3 separate regions of the Homo sapiens genome follow, and regions 1 and 3 are each linked to region 2. Evidence: promoter capture Hi-C in 16 types of primary human blood cells and fetal thymus (Javierre and others, 2016). All regions are on one chromosome and are shown on one strand. The core of a region is centred on a gene start or on the middle of the fragment in contact, and the rest is flanking DNA. Distances in the headings are between cores, read along the strand shown. Region 1 has its middle 40 kb from the start of MIR4733. Region 2 holds the start of RAB11FIP4 (RAB11 family interacting protein 4). Region 3 has its middle 99 kb from the start of COPRS.

Region 1 (2,805 bases), core at 158-2,657, 340 kb after region 2:
CGCTCTGTATCTTTCCAATAAGTTCCACTCCCTACCCCCCTTAAGTTAGTCAGAGTCAGGCACAACCAAGAACCCTATTTGATATAGGAAATTATTTTAACACAAAGACCCTTGGAGTCAAATCAATTCCAGAAAAGCATTTAATAATTTATTCTACTCTGTCAACACCAAACTATTGCACAGTGAGAAAAGGCTGTGGTGGAATGATGTCTGGAAGCAGCCTCTCCACCTGAGGAGGGGTCTCTGAGCTCTGAGATTGATGACATAGGTTCTAGAAAAATACATAAAATTAAAAATAGAGAGAGATTCTGCCACATACATGCTCTCAGGCACTTTAGGAACCATATAAGCTGTTTCCTGCCCTTTTCTGGGTACCTTAGTAGAGGGCTGGGTGCGGTGGCTCACGCCTATAATCCCAGCACTTTAGGAGGCCGAGGCGGGCAGATCACGAGGTCAGGAGATTGAGACCATCCTGGCTAACACGGTGAAACCCCGTCTCTCCTAAAAATACAAAAAATTAGCTGGGCGTGGTGGCGGATGCCTGTAGTCCCAGCTACTCGGGAGGCTGAGGCAGGAGAATGGCATGAACCCGGGAGGTGGAATGTGCAGTGAGCCAAGATTGTGCCACTGCACTCCAGCCTGGGCGACAGAGTGAGACTCCGTCTCAAAAAAAAAAAAAAAAAAAAGTAGAGAGAGACTCTGCCACATACATGCTGTCAGGCATTTTAGGAGCCATGTAAGCTGTTTCCTGCCCTTTTCCGGGTACCTTTTGAAAGCCAACATTAGGATAGAAGCATAGAGGCTGTGCCACTAGAAAGATTCTGGTGAGAATCGTGGCTGCTTGTTGCACACGTAACCTAGGTAAGTTACCTGATCCCTGAACCTCAGTTTCCTCATCAGCAAAATGAAAGATGATGTCTCATAAAGCTGTGAGAGTGGAAGAGATCACGTTTGCTGAGCACCTGGAGTGTTGTAGGCATTCACCCTGGTTGTGCCTATTTTTCTCAGACCATTCTTTGCTACTGAAACGACTTCTGCAAAGAAGTTGGGGTGGCTTAGATATTGAACTGGCTTGTTTGGCAGGTTATGTTTGGTGCCTATGCATGAGAAACTGATTGGCCATTCATAGGACACTGAGCAGTTTGGAGACTCAGGACCTCCTGCATCCTCTGTGCTTGAATGTTTGCATGGTCAACAGTTCAGAAGTATGCACATCCTGCTGAGAGCTCCATAGCTCTGTAAGAAGGAAGGATTGGGTCTCTACACCAAATGCAAAGCCTGGCCTGGCACGGTGGCTATGCCTGTAATCCCAGCACTTTGGGAGGCCATGACAGCAGGGTCGCTTAAAGCCAGGAGTTACAGACTAGCCTGGGCAACATAGTGAGACCCCCCCCCCATTTCTACAAAAATAAAAATAAAAATTAGCTGAGTGTGGTGGTACATGCCTGTAGTCCCAGTTACTCTGGAGGCTGAGGTGGGAGAATAGCTTGAGCCTGGGAGGCCAAGGTTGCAGTGAGCCGTCATTGCACCACTGCCCTCTAGCCTGGGTGACAGAGCAAGACCCTGTCTCAAAAGCAAAACAAACACAAACAAACAAAAAACAAATGCAAAACCCCAGGAGCTCTCCCAAGACACTATCGGTCAGTTCTGTAAACAATCACTGGAGGTGCAGAGGAGCTGCCCATCTTCAAGGAGTTCTGTAGCCTCTGACATGGCTGTATGGGGTCAGTTCCCTGAATATAGGTTGCTTTTTCATATTTCTGCAAAGTAGGCCCCTTCTGCCTGGATACCCTTCCCATCTATAATGGCTTATTGAGTGCAGGGCCAGCATTGGAATTGTGCAATGTACAACCTGCACGACTGTAAATAGCAGCCTTGGGTAAGAGAATGGGCTACACAGTCAGGAAAAGCTGCATCTATTTCTCATTTCTGCTATTCATTCTTAGTGAAGAGGTGAGCAGGTTGACTTTATTTATTTATTTATTTATTATTAGTATTTTTTTGAGACAGTGTGTCACTCTGTCACCCAGGCTGGAGTGCAGTGATGCGAGCTTGGCTTAGTGCAACCTCTGCCTCCTGGGTTCAAGTGACTCTCCTTCTTCAGCCTCCTGAGTATCTGGGACTACAGGCATGTGCCACCATGCCCAGCTAATTTTTGTATTTTTAGTAGAGATGGGGTTTCACCATTTTGGTCAGGATGGTCTTGAATGCCTGACCTCAAGCGATACACCTGCCTTGGCCTCCCAAAGTGCTGGGATTACAGGCCTGAGTCACGTGCCCAGCCTATTTATTTATTTATTTGAGACAGGGTCTCGCTCTGTCACCCAGACTAGAGTGTAATGGCATGATCACAGCTCACTGCAGCCTCAACCTCCCGGGCTCAAGCCATCCTCCCACCTCAGCCTCCCAAGTAGCTAGGTCCACAAGTGCATGCTACCATATCCAGCTATTTTTTTTTCTTTTTGTAGAGACAGAGGACTCACTATGTTGCCCAAGCTGGCCTCAAACCCCTAAACTCAAGTGATCCTCCTGCCTCGGCTTCCCAAATCCTGGGATTATAGGTGTGAGCAGCCATGCCCCACCAAGGCGACCTTGCTAAATCTCACTTTCTTCATTTGTGAAGTTGGAATAATTACAGTAGTGACCTCTTAGAGTTGTGAGGATTAAAATAAAACAATATATATAGGGAGATTTTAGCACAGTGCTTGGCATGTAGAAGACGCTTTAAAAAAGCTGTAATAATGATTATTCTTTCTGGCAAACTTTTACTCTACTTTAAAGCCTTTTCCAATTCTTTCCAAAGCT
Region 2 (3,020 bases), core at 263-2,762:
ACCTGAGTTCTCAAGCCCTGAAGCTGCCTCACTCTCTTCTGCCCACAGCTCTCAGCGACTCACAAGTCCCGGCCCATGCCCAGGTGCGGGTGGAGAGATGATTCTCAATCGCCTCCCACTCTCTGGTGACGCAGAGGCACGGGCCCAACCTGGCCATCACCCAGCTTCTCCCATGTTCTGAAATGCCTGGTCCGACCTGTTCTGGGAACACAATGCCAGCCAGTGCCCATTTGAGGCCCATGGCCCCAGGCCCCCCATGCAGGGCCTGAGGCCTTAGATGGCCTTGGAAACCCACTTCTCAGGGCTTTTGGCTCCAGGGGAAACCCCTGACCATTTCAGCCAGGTGGGTGTCTTGTCCTCCCCTTGAGACACAGTCCCCAGTCCCCATGCCGGTGGCACCAGAGGACACTGGTGTAGTGTGCGTTTAGTGATATGACTCCGTCCACCCTACTGGCGGCACCGACCCTCCGCTTCCAGCCCTGTTAACAATCTACGTAAGTCCTGCTTTCCCCAAATAGATGCGGCCCCGCCACATGAAAGCCCTCTGCTCAGCCACCACTCCCCGAGCCTGGCTTTGCCTGGCCTGCTGCAACCAACACAGCCAGCTGCCAGCCTGGCTGCCCAGCAGAGCCTGAATGAGAGGTCACCCGACACTGGCCCGGGAGTACACGGTGGCCCCAGCAGACACCTCCTTCCGTGTCTGGGCAGGGTGTGTGCAGCCGAGGAGCCAAGGCTGCAGAGCACCCCTACCGGTCCCTTTCACCCCCTGGCCCGGCCCAGCAGGACGTACACAGACCCTTGCATCTTGGTCTCCGCAGCGCCGGGTGGGGTGGGGAGCCTAGGGCCGGATTCTGGCAGCTCTCTCCCCCAGACAAGGGTGGATGTGCAGACCGCTCAGAAGGACCTGCATGGCCGAGGAAGGAAGGTGGGCGCAGAAGCCACCCTAGGCGTGACGCGTGACGCTCGGGGCACGGGCGCCGGGGGGCGGAAAGCGAGGGCCCGGCTGGGCCAGGGATACCCGGGGGGGGCCGAGGTCCTGGGCTCCGGCGGAGGGAGGGGATTGGGAGGGAGGCCACCGCCTCGGGCCACGCGGGTGACCCGGCGGGGGAGCTGGGGGAGGGGCGGCGGGGCTGGGCTGGGGTCCCCGGGCCGGGACTGGGGTCGGGCCAGCTTACCTCCTCGCCCTGGCCGAAGCGCAGTCCGAGCGCCGCGACGCGCTCCACGCGCAGGAAGCCGTCGGGGTCGCGGCCGCACACCTCGAACACCTCGCGCAGGCGGCGCACGGAGCGCAGCAGAGCCGCGGGGGCGCCCGACCAGCCCGCGCCGCCCGCCATCCGGGCCGGCCCGCAGCTCAGCCCGGACCCCTCGCCCGCCGCGCCCGCCGCCTGCCCGCCGCCGCCATCGCCGCGCGCCCTCCGGGGCCGCCCGTCTGGGTCTGCGCCGCGCAGCCTCCGCCCGGTGGCGGCCGCGGCCGATCCGTGTCAGCAGCGGCGCCGCAGCCCCAGCCGCTCCGGAGGGGAAGGGAGGGGAGGGGAGGGAAGGAGAAGAGTGGGGAGGGGAAGGAGGAGGGGCAATAGGGGGCGGGGAGGGGAGGGGCGGGGGCCGCGGCGAAAATGGGAGGGAGAGGGGGAGGCGGCGGGGGCGGCGGCGGCGGGGACGCTGCAGACAAAAGGAGCCCGCGTCCTCCCGAGTGGGGCGGCCCACGCGGGGCCGGCAGGCGCAGCGAGCTGCCAACGGCCGCGTCCTCCGCGACCTCAGTTTCCCTCCGCGTCCCCAGTTTCCCTCCGCGTCCCCGAGCCCACCCCTTCCTCTGGACACCCGGAGCCACCCAAAGGCCCTGCCCTGCCGGAGGATTCCGCGGGGTCGCGCCCCTTTCCGCTATCCGTGCCCGCTGCCGCGCCTGGCGTCTCCCGAGCGCTCAGGATGTCCTGGGGGCCTCCTGCATTGGCGCGTTCCGTGACTGCATTCATCCCGGAGGAAGCTGAGGCCCAGAGAGGTCGGACTCACTCTAGGCCACACAGCTGGCAAGAGGCAGGGCCGGGATTCGCTGCCATCTCTGGAGGGCTCTGGACTCCGTTCTTCACCTCCGCCCTGCGGTCTCCCGGCGCTCTCCTGCAAGACAGCACTTGTGGGGCCATCGGGCGGGGGAGGGCACAGAGAGGAGGAGCAGGCAACTGAACCCCAGCCTGGACCCGGGACCCTGCGACGGGGAGATGAGGAGAAAACCAGGATGAGGCCGGAGGGAGGAAAAGCGAGGCGCTTCCAGAGGCCTGCCTGTTCAGGGCCCAAGGCTGCTCCACGCCTGGAAGAGGCTTCCTCCCTTTCGCCGGGTTCCCACCATCACACCTCCCTGGCAGCCCGCATGCCCCAAGCTCAGAGAATCCAGGACAGAATCTCTGTCCCGCTGGCCGCAGGCTCTAGGTCAGGACCCTGGCCTCCTCCCATTAGTGCTCAGCGGAGCCTCCACCCCAGCTTGTGCTAACTTCCCAGCCCAGCCTCGGGGCCCTGCAGGACCCGGCCGGGCTCTTCTCTCCACCTTCTTGCTCGGCACATCAGGTCTTTGTGGCAACGACTGGCCCCAACCCAAAAAAAGGCCTTGGCTGAGTCTACTCCCACCTATGCTGTCATGCTCAGCACAGAGGTTTCCTCCTCCGGGAAGGCTTCTCTGATGGCACGCCATCTTATCTTCTATTCTGAGTTCTAAGCCCTTCTTCCAGGTGCCCAGTTAATTCTTAATTCTCTAGTGGGATGCCCATTTCCCCTACCATGCTGGGAAGCCCTCCAGGGCAAGATATGTCTTAATTACCTTCAAGTCCCTGATCTCCAGGCAAGAGTGGGCCCAGAGGAAGCCCCACCCAGAGGGGATGGGCCCGCCCATTATGTGAGGAGCCGGGAGCAACGTAGTGGCGCAGACAGGGAGTACGGGGTGAACTGCATGGCCTCCCCTAGCTGGGCCTCGGTTTGTACCTCTGTGGTCTTCCTGCTCAACCCTGAATATATCCTGCGCAGGGACTGCCATT
Region 3 (3,080 bases), core at 358-2,857, 370 kb before region 2:
TGAAGCTGCATTTCATTGACAACAGCTGCATTTCATTAATGTCGTGTGACCCATGGGCAAATGAATCCACTGGTCATACGATGTCTCTCTTTTTTTTTTCCCCAAGACAGAGTCTTGCTCTGTCACCCAGGCTGGAGTGCAGTGGCATGATCTCAGCTCACTGCAACCTCTGCTTCCTGAGTTCAAGCAATGCTCCTGCCTCAGCTTCCTGAGTAGCTGGAATTACAAGCACCCGCCACCGTGCCTGGCTACTTTTTGTATTTTTAGTAGAGACAGGGTTTCACCGTGTTGGCCAGGTTTGTCTCAAACTCCTGACCTCGTGATCCGCCTGCCTCACCTCCCAAAGTGCTGGGATTACAGGAGTGAGCCACTGCGCCCAGCTGATGTCTGTTAAAGTAAGCTTGTGATACTTGAACCAGGGAACTGTGGCAATCAGGAAACTGTTGACCATGGACAACCAGTGAATATTTATCTAAGTACAGGCTAGAATCTGTACTTAAGTAAGTGGGTGATTAGTTGAAGGAATACAAATTGTAACCAAGTAAGAATGTTTTCTCAGAGCTCACAGTATAATTAGAATCAGAGTCAGATGAAAAAAGAAGGCATGGAATAGCCTCATTCATATAGGAAGTTATCCTAATTGCCAGTACTGATGTGGCAAGTTCTGACCAAGAGATTATGAATGATATCAATCAATAACTTGTAATGCTGACTTATAAAGGACATTGACGCTGGGCTCCGTGGCTCCCATCTGTAATCCCAGCTACTTGGGAGGCTGAGGCGAGGAATGAGTGCAGAGTGGGGCCTTGTGTGCAACCCTAGATCTTGCTCCTGGGAGCCCCTGGAGTGGTACTTTTAAAGAAAAAAGATGGGGTCTCACTTTAGCTGGGTGTGGTGCCTCACACCTATAGTCCCAGCTCCTCAAGAGGCTGAGGTAGAAGGATCACTTGAGCCCAGAAGTCCAAGACTTCAGTGAACTATGGTTGTGCACTGTACTCCAGCCAGGGTGACAAAGCAAGACTTCATCTCTTACAAAAAGAAAAAAAAAAAAAAAGAGGACATTGATGAGAATAAAAGTTCTGTGTGTTTATGCTGGCTCTCTAAAACATAAGAGATAAAATCCAAATGAACAAATACAATTAATTTTTAACAGATATAGCAGCTTGGAAGTTTAAAGAAATTCTAGTAAGAATTTAAAGAAACTCTTGTGAAAACTGGAAAACAAAAACATGTAAATAAAATATCTTGAGAAAATGAACATATAGTATTTACCAAATTTAATGCCTAAAAATTCAAAATCCTGAAATAGGATATAAGGGATATGTTTGTCAATAGTAAAAGACTGATGAATGCTAGTAAAATGTAAAAATATTCCATAAAACATCGACAGGAGTTTTTTCATCTTATTCCTTGTGTGAAGACATTTGGGAACCTTTTCCCAAGTATACTCCAGCTCAGCAGGCAGCTAACCCACTGAGGGCTGGTTTGTTTGTGAGGATGGAGACCTCAGACAGCAGGACTATGAAGGATGAACAGGTACATTTTGCAGCTAAATTTCAGAAGACCTGCTCAAGTATGTACGATAAAACCCTGCTTCATTTAATTTTCTGTCCCCTGACTTTTCCAGTGTGGGTTGCTTGGCTGATTATCTTCTCCCTATTTTTTTTTGTTTTATGGTCTCCAATAATCTTGCATTTCTCTTTGTTCTACCAAAATGCTGCCTGAATAAGCTCTGGGTCTTTCGCACAAGTATGGGCTGAACCTGTGCTATGTCTTGCCTATGGGGCCTTTTCTCTGCAGACCTCTTCCGTGTGGTGGTCCCCAGATTGAAGGGTACAGTCTGGCTTGCCACTGCACAAGGTCATCAGAGGGATTTAATCTCATTTTGTGCTCAGCCATCCTGGTGAGGCCAAAGGGGTCATGGGGCTCATTTTGCACCTTGGGTGCATATATGGGTTTTCCCTGGAAAAATGTATTGTTTCATCCACTATCATTGCAAAGTCACGTAAGCCAACATTTGTTGGGCACCAAGCATTCTGCTAAGTGCCCCACATGTGTTATCTTAATTTATTCCTATGAAGTAGGTGCCCTTATTATTCCCACCTTATAGACAGAGAAACTAAGTCTCAGGATGGTTGTTTTCCCAACCACTTAATAAGGTTTACCATTTAATAAGTGGCAGATCTGGGTGTTGAGCCCAGGTCTGTCTGAGTTCCTAACCACTGAGCAGGTGGTCTTTCCTTCTGCACACACACACACACACACACACACACACTCATATGCATTTTTATAATAATGAAAGAATCTCATATATGCTGTTTTGTAGCTCCCTCTTTTCACTAACCCACTACAAGATGGGGCAAGAAGAGCATAATAGATTATTCCCCAGCCTCATCCTGACTGGGCAGAGCTTCCCACATCTGTCTTTTTCCCCCAGTGGAGTCTGGAGCGTGAGTCACAATGGAAAGGTCTAGAAAGCAGCTTCTTTGGTAGAGGCTCCATGGTGACCATAGTACAGAGATGGGGCCCAACTTGGGTACCCACCAGAGATAGAAGAAGGAATTATTACTTCCTGACAGGTGAGTCAATGAGATGGTATTGTAGAGTCAATTTCTTATCACTGAAAGCATTCAGGCAGAAGTTATTAGATTGGTGGTTCTCAATGGGGATATATCATCTCTTTAGTGGTGGTTTTGGAACTAGGGGGATTATTTTTGGTTGTCATAATGATTTTGCAGTCAACTACTTCCATTTAAGAGGGCAAGTCCTGTAGCGTGTGCAATATGGTACAGACCCAGGCAACAAGAAGCTTTCCTGCCTCCTCTGAACTTCTGAATGTCCTGGAAGAAATTCATATAGGAAAAAAACCCCCAATAAAACAAAACAAAACAGACAAACAAAGAAAACACCCCAAAACCTGTTTATAATTTGCTGATCCCAGAAATGAATGCTGTTTTATATATAAAGCAATGTCATGTTTTTGAATTTTTTCAAATATAAACAATTTTTCAAAAGTGCAAATACTGGGAAAAAAGGGAAAGATTATACTTTGCATTGTGTGCAATGTTAACAAGAGCATG

The links. Contacts are between HindIII fragments. The CHiCAGO score rates a contact against its expected background, and 5 or more counts as called.
Region 1: a fragment that was not itself captured here is called in contact with the fragment with the promoter of RAB11FIP4 in region 2 in 1 of 17 cell types (naive CD4 T cells); the score reaches 5.1 in naive CD4 T cells.
Region 3: a fragment that was not itself captured here is called in contact with the fragment with the promoter of RAB11FIP4 in region 2 in 1 of 17 cell types (M2 macrophages); the score reaches 5.7 in M2 macrophages.

What each region holds. Positions count from the first base shown.
Region 1 is chr17:31,053,323-31,056,127 of GRCh38, reverse strand. It overlaps the pseudogene LOC646030. Among named protein-coding and RNA genes, the nearest start is that of MIR4733, 40 kb to the left of the region's middle. The HindIII fragment of the contact is 3,265 bases long and covers 1-2,805 here.
Region 2 is chr17:31,390,167-31,393,186 of GRCh38, reverse strand. It overlaps RAB11FIP4 (RAB11 family interacting protein 4), which reads right to left and starts at 1,512. Exons shown (of 15, transcript NM_032932.6): 1 at 1,176-1,512. The coding sequence starts at 1,334. RefSeq lists an enhancer at 1,708-2,297. The HindIII fragment of the contact is 11,828 bases long and covers 1-3,020 here.
Region 3 is chr17:31,758,247-31,761,326 of GRCh38, reverse strand. It overlaps the pseudogene GPR160P2. Among named protein-coding and RNA genes, the nearest start is that of COPRS, 99 kb to the left of the region's middle. The HindIII fragment of the contact is 2,409 bases long and covers 403-2,811 here.